Regions from separate parts of the Homo sapiens genome. Here regions 2, 3 and 4 are each linked to region 1. Evidence: promoter capture Hi-C in human tissues and cell types (Jung and others, 2019). All regions are on one chromosome and are shown on one strand. Each heading gives the region's core, a stretch centred on a gene start or on the middle of the fragment in contact. The rest is flanking DNA. Distances are from core to core; before and after follow the strand shown. Region 1 holds the start of DNAH17 (dynein axonemal heavy chain 17). Region 2 overlaps CYTH1 (cytohesin 1). Region 3 overlaps DNAH17 (dynein axonemal heavy chain 17). Region 4 overlaps DNAH17 (dynein axonemal heavy chain 17).

The links. The method cuts DNA at HindIII sites, captures the fragments that hold promoters and counts their contacts. A contact is called where the count stands out against the background at its distance.
Region 2: a fragment that was not itself captured here is called in contact with the fragment with the promoter of DNAH17 in region 1 in 3 of the 25 tissues and cell types used here (mesendoderm cells, pancreas and thymus).
Region 3: a fragment that was not itself captured here is called in contact with the fragment with the promoter of DNAH17 in region 1 in 5 of the 25 tissues and cell types used here (H1 embryonic stem cells, lymphoblastoid cells, mesendoderm cells and 2 more).
Region 4: a contact is called between a fragment that was not itself captured here and the fragment with the promoter of DNAH17 in region 1, in 2 of the 25 tissues and cell types used here (IMR-90 fibroblasts and pancreas).

Annotation. Positions count from the first base shown.
Region 1 is chr17:78,576,066-78,578,869 of GRCh38, reverse strand. DNAH17 (dynein axonemal heavy chain 17) reads left to right here and starts at 1,474. Exons shown (of 81, transcript NM_173628.4): 1 at 1,474-1,575. The HindIII fragment of the contact is 13,821 bases long and covers 1-2,804 here.
Region 2 is chr17:78,693,236-78,696,039 of GRCh38, reverse strand. CYTH1 (cytohesin 1) reads left to right here. Exons shown (of 14, transcript NM_004762.6): 10 at 31-33. Among named protein-coding and RNA genes, the nearest start is that of SCAT1, 63 kb to the right of the region's middle. The HindIII fragment of the contact is 4,880 bases long and covers 1-2,804 here.
Region 3 is chr17:78,486,383-78,489,186 of GRCh38, reverse strand. It overlaps DNAH17 (dynein axonemal heavy chain 17), which reads left to right. Exons shown (of 81, transcript NM_173628.4): 45 at 2,681-2,804. All of the region lies in intron 1 of DNAH17-AS1 (DNAH17 antisense RNA 1), which reads right to left. Among named protein-coding and RNA genes, the nearest start is that of DNAH17-AS1, 2.9 kb to the right of the region's middle. The HindIII fragment of the contact is 5,977 bases long and covers 1-2,804 here.
Region 4 is chr17:78,504,444-78,507,247 of GRCh38, reverse strand. DNAH17 (dynein axonemal heavy chain 17) reads left to right here. Exons shown (of 81, transcript NM_173628.4): 30 at 402-528; 31 at 1,803-1,955. Among named protein-coding and RNA genes, the nearest start is that of DNAH17-AS1, 21 kb to the right of the region's middle. RefSeq lists enhancers at 1-147, 1-462. The HindIII fragment of the contact is 9,772 bases long and covers 1-2,804 here.

The sequences.
Region 1 (2,804 bases), core at 225-2,724:
TCCAATACCATTTGTTGAAAAGGTGATTCTTTTCCCATTGAGTTGTCTTGGCACCTTTGCTAACTCAATCGTCCATAAATGGATGCATTTATTTCTGGAACCTCAATTCTATTCTAGTGATCTCTGTCTATTGTTATGCTGGTAGCACTGTCTTGATAACTGTAGCTTTGTAGTGAGTTTTGAAATCAGGAAGTGTGTGTCTTCAGACTTTGTTCTTTTTCAAAGTTGTTTGGATGGTTTTTGTTCCCTCATACTTCCCTATAAAATCTAGGGTCATTTCTACAAAAAAGGCAGCTGAGAGTTTGATAAGGATTGTGTTGAATCTGCAGATCAACTTGAGGAGAACTGTCGTCATCTTAACAATCTTCTTTTTTTTTTTTTTTTGAGACGGAGTCTCACTCTGTCTCCCAGGCTGGAGGGCAATGGCGGGATCTCGGCTCACTGCAAGCTCCGCCTCCCAGGTACATGCCATTCTCCTGCCTCAGCCTCCTGAGTAGCTGGAACTACAGGCACCCACCACCACGCCCGGCTAATTTTTTTGTATTTTTAGTAGAGATGGGGTTTCACCGTGTTAGCCAGGATGGTCTCGATCTCCTGACCTCGTGATCCACCCGCCTTGGCCTCCCAAAGTGCTGGGATTACAGGCGTGAGCCATCACGCCTGGCCCGTCTTAACAATCTTCTAACCCATGAACACAGCATGTCCTTCCATTGATTTAGGTTGTCTTTATTTCCATGATGTTTTGCAGTTTTCAGTGTACAAGTCTTAACACTTCTTTTTAAAGTTTATTCCTAAGTATTTTGTTGTTTTTGACGCTATTGTAAACGAAATTATTTTGATGCTGTTGTAAATGGGAGTTGTTTTCTAAATTTCATGATCAGATTGTTCATTATGGGGACAATTGTTTTCTAAATTTCATCATCAGATTGTTCATAATATAATTACAGAGAAATATAATTAATTTTCAAATATCTTGTATACTGCAAACTTGCTGAATTCCTCTATTAGCTCTACAATTTTATGGATTTCTTGGGATTTTCTACATACAAGATCACCTTATTGTAAACAGAGATAATGTCTTCCTTTCCACTTTGGGAGGATTGCTTGAGGCCAGGAGTTTGAGACCAGCCTGGGCAACAGAGTGAGACCTCATCTCTACAAAAAGTACAAAAATTAGCCAGGTGTGGTGATGTGCGTCTGTTGTCCTAACTTCTCAGGAGGCTGAGGGGGGGGGATCACGTAAGCCCAGGAGTTTGAGGCTGCAGTGAGTTATGATTGTACCACTGCACTCCAGCCTGGGTAACAGAGCGCGACCCTGTCCCCCCTCCAACCTCCCCTCAAAATGATCATCTAAGAGCCTTTCCACTGTGGGGTGACGGTTGGTTCCTCATTTGCTGCGCTATCATTGGTTACTTGGGTCCCAAGGGGAAGGTTCTAGAAGCCCCAGGTACCGTGAGGAGACTCCCAGAAGTTATGTGGCAGTTGGAGCCCCTCGAGGGAAGGGAGCCATTTTCTTTCCTGGTTTGGGAAAGAGTTGCTCATCAGTTTGCGGGAGAAGCTGTTTGCCTTCAGCTGGTGAGCGGCCTTCAACCATGCTGGGGGAGTCGGAGGCCAAGGTGGAGGGAGCAGGGAGGCCTTCAGAGGATGGAGGTGGGACCTAGGCCCTGGCAGACAGCAGACCCTCCACTTACCCCAGAAGTGGCTCTGCTCGCCACCGGGAGCTGTTCATGGCTCTGGGACCCCGAGGCTGGCTGCCACGTACCAGCCTGACCCCTTCCAGGGCTCCAGACTCTTCCCTGCTCCTGGGAAGGCCTTGCCTCAGCCCCCTGGCTTCTCCTGGAAGCCCCTAGCCCCAGCTTCCTCCTGTGGAGTCCTGAAGGCCTGGGGCATGGGCCACCTCCCAGAGAAGCCGTCTCTGCCCCTCCGGAAGCATGGCCTGGGACAACCCTATTGTTAACTGGGACCTCCTGGCCTTCAGCCCAGGAAACGGCTGGGTGGGAGCCTGAGATGAGACCTCCCGATCGTGCAAGAAACTTGCGGGGTGTAGGGGCCCCTCAGCCCACACATGTTATGGCTTGGGAGGCAGCCCACCCCATGCCGTTCTTGGAAGAAAAGATGACTTTGTGAAAGCCCAAATCCACAAAATCAGTAAACCAGAGGATGTTTCCCTCCAGTCCAGTCGCCTGACCAGCTTGGCGAGACTTCCAATCAGGAACCTTCCAGGACTCGGGCTCCCCTGAGTTCCTGATCCCCCTAGGAAATGACGACGTGACGCGTCCCCGGGTCTCGGAGATCCTGGGTGGAGATTAATTCAGCAGCATGCTGAAAGCCCTGTGGGAACCTGGTGAACGAGTCATCTCCATAAATGCCACGCGGTGCTCCTCCTACTTGCCTGGTGGTGTCCCCTTTTTCTTTCACAGATGTGCCTGAATCGGGTGGCTTTGCTCGTGGACCGCCATGTTTCTGCCATTTGCTGGCCAAATATTCCCCAAGTCCTCTCTCAGAGATGTTTGGAGCCTTGAATAAATCTCAGACCATTTGAATAGCATCCAAATGCTATCCACTACTGCTTCCCATCATATAGTTGTTTTGCCGATATATAGTGGCCAGGGTGAAATAAACCTGTTCCGTGGTATTACGTGTCTTTTGGGGAACTGTAGGCTGTTACAAACTTAAAAGCAATAGCTTGGGTCAAACCAAAAGGCAGAATTTGTGAGTGCTTCCAACGTCATCTGTCCACCCTGATGCTTTTCAGCAGCTGCCAGGTCTGGAGCAGGCCAGCCCCAGCCCACGGACCCCCAGAG
Region 2 (2,804 bases), core at 168-2,667, 120 kb before region 1:
GGCTCTCCTTTTCCTTGCCCCAAACTCCAGGAGGTATGTAACCCTCAGCCTGCTCGCTCGCTCTGCTAGGCCACTGTCATTACTGCAGCATTTTCTGATTTCGTTATTTTTGGTTATTTTGTTTTTTAATTGCCGGTGGTAGTGTTAATGCTGCTTCTAACTTATTGTACAGTCCCTAGGGAACTGGTCAGGATCAGGGGTTTGGAGCAATTTTCGTTTTTCTTTTTTGGAGGAGTATATGTTATATTCATTACTGAATGCAGTAATGCAAGAAAACATACTAAGAGTGGGTTTGTAAAAGCAGAGGAAGTTTCCATGACATTTTCACTTGGAATTATTGGCTAAGACATGCGCTATGTTTGATATTCAATTTGACGTCCATTAATCAGCCTGATTGAAAGTTAATCTCTGACGTGGGGAAGAGGAGAAAGAAGAGAAGGAAGTCTTTCTTTTTTCTTCTTTTTTCAAGCTGAGACTTACTCCAGAGAGAACAAAGTCTTGACTTCCCAAAGCTATGGAAAGCTTCTGATTTACCATGATGGAAAAGCAAACTAGGGAAAGAACTAAATTAGATGATACTTAAGACATTTGCCTTTGCACGAAAAGGGGAAATGGTATTTCCTAAACTCAAAATGATACCGAGTGAAGGTGAAAAAAACAAGTCCAAACCAAAAAACCCTCCCTGAAGTCCTCGTGTTTAGTTTCCTGGGGATCAGAGAAGGGTATTAACAGCCTCGGCTCTGTTGTTATGTTTTGTTTTGCTCCCTCGCTTTTTCAGCGAGTCCTCGTTAAAGCCCCGAATCGGTCTCCTGGTTATGGTTTTGGTGTCTCCTCTCCATTTGCTGGTTTTTTTGGGGAAACATATTTTCTTAGCCCAAGACCCCTCAGGTTTGTGCCTAAGCATTCCCTGAGCAGTAGCTACACTTAAAAAGAACAACCCCAAACACGCACAGTTACTGAGATGCTTCAGGGACTTGTCAGGTTGTTCTCAACTGTAGGGGAAGATGGCATCCGGCCTTGATGTCTCGGGGAGGTCACAGGAGGCCTGAGGAGCCGTGCAGTGGGAGGTGGTCCTGTGAGTTCCACAGGGACTGTCCTAGGCGCACATTGATCTGTCTGCTTGTTTCATGTCTGCTTTTCTTTCCACGTGGAAATGTTCCCCGTGGGCCCACAGTGATGCTTTATGGTAGAGGTCTCTGTAATGCAACAAATTGTCCAGGCATAATAACCAAGCTTTTGTAATCAGGCAGAGAATTTCTTCTGGCTTTGCTTTTTCTCCTTGATTTCTTTCCATCTTGTTTCTTTTAGCATCTGACTCGCTTTTTCCATGATCTCCTATGTCCGAAGGGTTCCCCGGGTAGTGTCCTGTGATGGAGCGCATGGGAGGTCAGCATGGGTTGATGTTCCCTTTGTGCCGAGCCTCCGTGGGCAACCAATGGCCCGCCAGGCTGGAAGACCAAAGTTCTCAGACTCTGAATTGGTGGAGGGGGTTCCTTTTTAAGAACAAATTGGCTTCAATCCTGAATATAGTCCTTGCCTTCTTTATCCTCCTTATTTAATTCTGCCCGGGCTTTCCTGTTTTCCACATGCATGTCATAGTATCCATTTATGGTTTTCTCTTAATTCATGCCATCTAACCTTTAGGGACCAGTGGCAAGGGCTCACATGAAACTTAGAAGTTACTGGAGGGAGAGTCTCAATTTGCTTGATATAGCACAGGATGGGCAGGTGGAGGGCACGTGCTTGCTTACAGCAAATTCCCTCGCATAACCTAGATCTGTGTCATTTGGAATCTTGGCAATTAATGATCAGTCACGTAAGCCCGCCTAGGGTTCAGCATCCAAGCAGGGTGCTAAAAACTGGCCTGAAAGTCCAGTGGTCCTTTTACTTGTCTGCCAGGACCTACGCTGGACATTTTCTTTTCATAACATTATTTGCATACTCCCCTTAGGTTTCTCTGGTGTGAGCATGCAGGCAGGTCCTGGCAGTTAGAATAATCCCTGTAAAACCATTCTCCTCTTTGCTCAGCTATTTGTGATGAGGGCAAGAGAGAAAGCATGATCGGAGGTATGAGATTTATGCCCCATGATCCTTGCTATTTAGGAAGATTGGAGAAGCGGTATTGTCTGTAGGTTAAGTCTTAGCAAAAGAGCAGGCACAAGAAGTGTTTCTAGAATGCCATGCATAGCTTCACAGGTCAAGGCCTTAGGGATAAGTTTTGAGTGGTTCATGTTCAGAAAATGTTCCCTTGATGGGAGAGAGGTGGAGGAAGAGAAAGCCTGTGGTCCCGATTTGACAGCAGGTGTAGCTTCATTCAGATAGGCTTGGGGAAATTTTTCCTTCCTTCATGTCTGTCTCAGCATAACTTCACGGCCCCAACCCCAACTTTTTTTTTTTTCTTTTTTTTTTCTTTTTTTTTGAGAGGGAGTCTCCCTGTGTCACCCAGGCGGGAGTGCAGTGGTGCAATCTTGGCTCACTGCAACCTCCACCTCCCAGTTCAAGTGACTCTCATGCTTCAGCCTCCTGAGTAGCTGGAACTATAGGCATGTGCCACCACCCCTGGCTAATTTTTATACTTTTAGTAGAGATGGGGATTCACCATGTTGGCCGGCTGGTCTTGAACTCCTGACCTCAAGCGACCCACCCACCTTGACCTCCCAGAGTGCTGGGATTATAGACGTGAGCCCCTGTGCCTAGCCATGACCCCAGTGTTTTGTGCTGAGAAATACTAAAAAGAACCAAGGGAGGCCCTTGCCAGCCTCCCAGCCACCACCGCCAGAGCTTGTTTTGCCATGGCTGTATTT
Region 3 (2,804 bases), core at 1-2,500, 89 kb after region 1:
GCAGCACAGTGTGGCCAGGGTTTGAGAGGGATACCAAGTGGAATGTTCCCTATGGGGACAGGGCCAGGAGCTGCTGAGCCTGGGTGCCTCTGTGCCGGCTTCTCCAGCAACACTTGCCTGCTTATACAGCATTCTCCAGCTGCTGAAACAATGACCACTAATGGGGCAGCTTCAAACAACAGACATTTATCCTCTCCCAGTGCTGGAGGCCAGAAGTCAAGGAGTAGGCAGTGCTGGTTCCCTCTGAGGCTCTGCGGGAGAACCTGTCCCAGGCCTCTCTCCCAGCTCCTGGGGGCTCTCGGCGGTCCTTGGCATCCCTTGGCTTATGGACACACCCCTCCCATCTCCGCCTCTGTCTCCACGTGGCCTTCTCTGTATGTCTGTGTCCAAATTTCCCATTTGCTTATAAGGACACAGTCATTGGATTCAGGGTCCACCCTAAATCCAGGATGATCTTGTCTCAAGATCCTTGATGACATCTGCTAATGCCCTTTCTCCAAATCAGGGCACATTCTGGGTTCTGGGTGGACATTCTTTTGTAGCACCACCATCCTACCCACTGTACCATGTGTGGGAGTTTTCAGGGTAGGCAAAGACAATGTCCGGGGAACTGAAATGAAGCCTGGGTAGGAGCTGCTGAGACACGGGGACAGGAAAAAGACAGGATCGTGGAGTCCTCAGGGGGACACCCTATGGGAGCAGAGAAGAGGGAGCCAGAAACGAAGGCAGCGTGGGCCAAGGCAGGAACTGGACACCTCCAAGGAGTGACCTGGAGGAAGCAGGAGGAGGAGACCTGAGTATTGGCAGAGGAGAGAATGGAAATGGGCGAGAAGCAGACACAGGGTCCCCAGACAGCAGGAGCAGCCCTCCTATAGGCAACTGCCAGGGGCAGGGATGCCGGATGCACCCAGGATGGCCTTGGGGACAGGGCAAGAAGCCGTATGGACCAGAGGTGAGAAAGTCGGCCTGTCTCGCAAGCATGTGTCTCTCCTGGGGCCTGTGCTACGCATATCAGAGACAGCACACACACCGACCCGCACTCAGTGACTCCTACCAAGGCAGCATCACAAATTTTTGACACAAACATCTTCAAAGTAGAAGGCAGAAAGCAGCAGCCTCTGCGTAGATTTGCAAATCAATCTCCCCTACTGAAGACCAACTGGACTTGGAATTCAGTTCTTAGTTGCGACAGGCATGGAGACACCCTGATTCGCTTAGGGACATAGAAAGGTTTACTCTATTACGCTGGATAATACAGGGTGCTATGCGGCAAAGACGTTCAGCTCTTAATTCTCTCTTGTGATAGAGGTTCAGGAAGAAGCGGAGCTCCCCCAGAGCACACTCACAGAAGAGTGTGTGTCTGGCCAAGCACAGTGCCTCATGTCTGTAATCGCAGCACTTTGGGAAGCTGAGGCGGGCAGATCATCTAAGGTCAGGAGTTCAAGACCAGCCTGGCCAACGTGGCGAAACCCTGTCTCTACTAAAAATATGAAAATTAGCCAGGTGTGATGGTGCACGCCTGTGATCCCAGCTACTTGGAAGGCCGAAACAGGAGAATTGCTTGAACCCAGGAGGCAGAAGTTGCAGTGAGCCGAGATCGCACCCCTGCACTACAGAGCAAGACTCCATCTCAGAAGAAGAAAAAAAATGAGTCTCTGTCTAAAGAGGCACGTCTGCCGGTCAGCGCAGGGCAGGCTGGCTGTGTGTGTTAACAGGAGCTTCCTGCTTAGGCCCTGGGCATCCTGGAAATGATGCACGTGCTGAGCTCACTGGCACTCGAGGGGGCCAGGCACTAGTGATGCTTTCAGCAGATGCTGATTTGGCAACACTTACCCTGGACCAGGCCCCCTTCTCTGAGCTTTAAAAATATCAGCCCATGTAGTCCTTGGAAATGAGGGTCATGGAAACATCACCCCTGTTTACAGATGAGAAACCAGGGACTCAGGCATGTGCAGTAACCTGCCTAAAGCAGCAGCTGGCCATGGTAGAGCTGACTCAAGCCTGGGCAGTCAGGCCCCAGAGTCCACACCCCTCACCGCCGTGGTGGGCCACCTCCACACGAGCCACCCAGAGATGTCTGTGGCCAACAGTCTGGCACGGCTCTTCAAGGATTGCTGGTTGTATTGATTTGTACTCTTACACTGAACATGGCAAATTCAACTCAAACTAACTGAAGCTTAAAAAAAAAAAAAAAAAAAAAGCACCAAGGGGTGCTTCAGGCATGGCTGGATTCAGGAGTCCAGATGATGTAATGAAATGTCCCTGCTCCTATCCTTGTCTCTCCTTTCTGCTCCCTTACTGTCCCCACCTTCGTGCCCCCCACATGACATCATGAGATCTTTCTCCTTTTCTGTTCTGCCCCATCCACCAGCCCTTGGTATGTGCTTCCCGTGTGGTAGCAAGAATGGCTTCCAACTGTTCTAGACCTACAGCACCCCCATAGCTAGCAACCCCAGAGAGGGCACAGCCCCCACGACCCTGGCATCCTCCTCCGACCCTTTCAGGGCCTGCAACTGGCCCCTCTGGCACCCTCGTTTGGACCCATTGCCATGCAGGCATGGTGACCCTGAGGGCAGCCCCAGCAGAATTGGGTGGAGGTAGGGAGGGGCGTTTACCAAGGCAGGGACACTGGCAGACCCAGAGCAGCGGCTGTGTCATCGGCGCCTCCTGTCACCCCCAGGGTGGTGAGCAGCTGGATCGAGAGGCGCAAGGTGCAGTCGGAGAAGGCCAACCTGATGATCCTCTTTGACAAGTACCTGCCCACGTGCCTGGACAAGTTGCGCTTTGGGTTCAAGAAGATCACG
Region 4 (2,804 bases), core at 116-2,615, 72 kb after region 1:
GTCAGTGGTGCAGATTCCCTAAGTCTTAAGTCTGACGGAACTTAAGTCTTGTGCAGCCTGCTGGCCAGGACAGGGCAAAACCATGGGTCCTGGGTTAATCAATTGCCTTTCCCTGGGGAGCACACACTCCCCGGCCTCATCCCACCACGTGATGCCTTGGCCTTGAAGGAAGCAATGACCCGGAGAATAAATGATGCTCCCTCTTGCCTAGGAGTGCCCACAAGGTCAGGGGATGGCAAAGAAACGAGAGCCTCCGGTAGGAGATTCTGAATTAAACCAGGCCTGTGAACAGCAGTCCAGGCATCTCCAGGATGATCAGTTTCCTTCGCCGACAGGGTGGGTGGCAGACATCCCTACAGAGTAGGGTCACCGGCCTCCTCTACTTCCTTCCTTCCTCCCAGCTTGGCCATCTGTGAAAAGGCTTTGGCAGAGTATTTAGAGACGAAAAGACTGGCTTTCCCCCGGTTCTATTTTGTCTCCTCGGCTGACCTCCTGGACATTCTCTCCAATGGCAATGACCCCGTGGAGGTAGGCGGGGCCCCTTGCATTCCGGTGTTTAAGCCAACATCATGCCAGACCCCAGGTGGGCACCTCTACCTCAACCGCCCTAGGGTGGGGTAAGTGTCCTTGGACGTGCCCCATCATCTCCAGGAGGCCCTCTGCACCAGAAGCTGCCCTGGGGTCCCCAGCCATGGCAGAAACGTGGCAGGACTCGCCTCACATCCTGCTCTGCACTTGGCCTGGCTTTTGAGAAGTTAATTTGCCTCTCTGTGCCTCATTTTCCCCTTCTAGAAAATGGGTCGTATGCCAGAGGCTTAGTAAGACACTGTTTCTGAAAGACACACCTCTCAGTGGGTCTTGCTCTGGTCAGCTGGTTAAATCTCAGGGTCCCAAGAGCAAGGAACAGGTGCCTCCTTGGGGCTATTCTAAAAGAGAAAAGAGGTCAGGCACAGTGGCTCACACCTGTAATCCCAGCTACTCAGGAGGCTGTGGCATGATAATTGCTTGAACCCGAGAGGCAGAGGGTTGCCGTGAGCCAAGATCGCACCACTGCACTCCAGCCTGGGCGACAGAGTGAGACTCTGTCTCAAAAAAAAAAAAAAAAAATTAACTAGGTGAAGGGAAAGCGCTTGCATTTTATTTTGACCGTAAGGTTAGAGGTTACACAAGAAGAAGGGATATGCAAGAATAGACTGAGTGTGTGGCTTGGGATCTGGGACAGAACCTTCTCAAAAAGAAGAAATCTTATTTATTAATTTTTTTTATTTTGAGATGGAGTTTCGCTCTTGTTGCCCAGGCTGGAGTGCAATGGCGCGATCTCGGCTCACCACAACCTCTGCCTCCTGGGTTCAGGTGATTCTCCTGCCTCAGCCTCCCAAGTAGCTGGGATTACAGGCATGCACCACCACGTCTGGCTAAGTTTGTATTTTTAGTAGAGATGGGGTTTCTCCACATTGGTCAGGCTGGTCTCGAACTCCTGACCTCGGGTGATCCACCTGCCTCGGCCTCCCAAAGTGCTGGGATTACAGGTGTGAGCCACCATGCCCCACCAAAAAGAAATCTTCCAGAATGGATGTTTGGCTTAGAAGGGCTGCGGTTCCTGGCCTGGTTTCTGTGTCCTGACTCAGAGCAGTCTTCGCTGGTTCCTTTTGTTGACTTAGTCATGTTTAGTCAACGTTGATCAAAGATGGGGAGTATATTCCAAAAAGAACGATGCCTAAAACCACCCACGGAAAGCCCAAGCCACGCACATGCCTTTCAAATCCCCCGTTGCATAATTCCCGCTTCTTGCCTCCTCCCAGGTGAGCCGCCACCTGTCCAAACTCTTCGATAGCCTGTGTAAACTGAAGTTCCGGCTCGATGCCAGTGACAAACCTCTCAAGGTGGGCCTGGGAATGTACAGCAAGGAGGACGAGTACATGGTTTTTGATCAGGAATGCGACCTCTCGGGGCAGGTGAGTGTGTGCGCACACCACACAGGGAACCCAGGACAAGGGTGCAGCACGCGTGTGGGCCACACGCCCTCAGATGGCGATGTCCGGAGAACCAGCACCCTGTGCAGCTGCCAGCCCGCCCCTGCTCCTCTCCTCTCCCTCTCTAGAAAACACTTAAGGGATGGGCCTCTTTATAGAATTTCCAGCCCAGCCTTACCCATATAGCACCAGTGTATCCTTAGGGAGAAAGGGGAGGGGAAAGGACGGGAGAAAAGCCCTGTTCGGGAGGCTGAGGCAGGAGAATCGCTTGAACCCGGGAGGCAGAGGTTGCCGTGAGCCAAGATCGCGCCACTGCACTCCAGCCTGGGTGACAGAGTGAGACTCCGTCTCAAAAAAAAAAAAAAAAAAAAAAAAAAAAAGCCCTGTTAATATCATTGAATCCTTTCCATGGCTTTTGCCAAAGGGACTGCTTTAAAAGGGGTTGCACATCTCTGAACTGCCAATTCCCATCACCTGTCTGAAATAATCGGCTGCACAGCCCACCACTCAGAGTGGTCTCCACAGCCTCTTCCTTCCCCAGCAAGCGCGTCCCCCGGCTCAGGGCGGGCTCCTTCTGCCGTCAGAAAACTTCCGGGCTGCCCCCTCCCCTGTCTCATTACCCAACTATTGATCAAGCAATAGAAACCATTTTAACATCAGCCTGAGGAAAATACAATGCAGAGGTAAATCAGTTGTAGGAAGAAGAAAAAAAAATCTCGAGAAAACCTGAGGTTCAAAGAGTTGAACACAGCACACACGTGGCCTGCTCTACGTGGATGGGGTGGGTGGGGTGGGTGGGGTGGTGACAGCATCTGTCTAGATTCGCTTCCT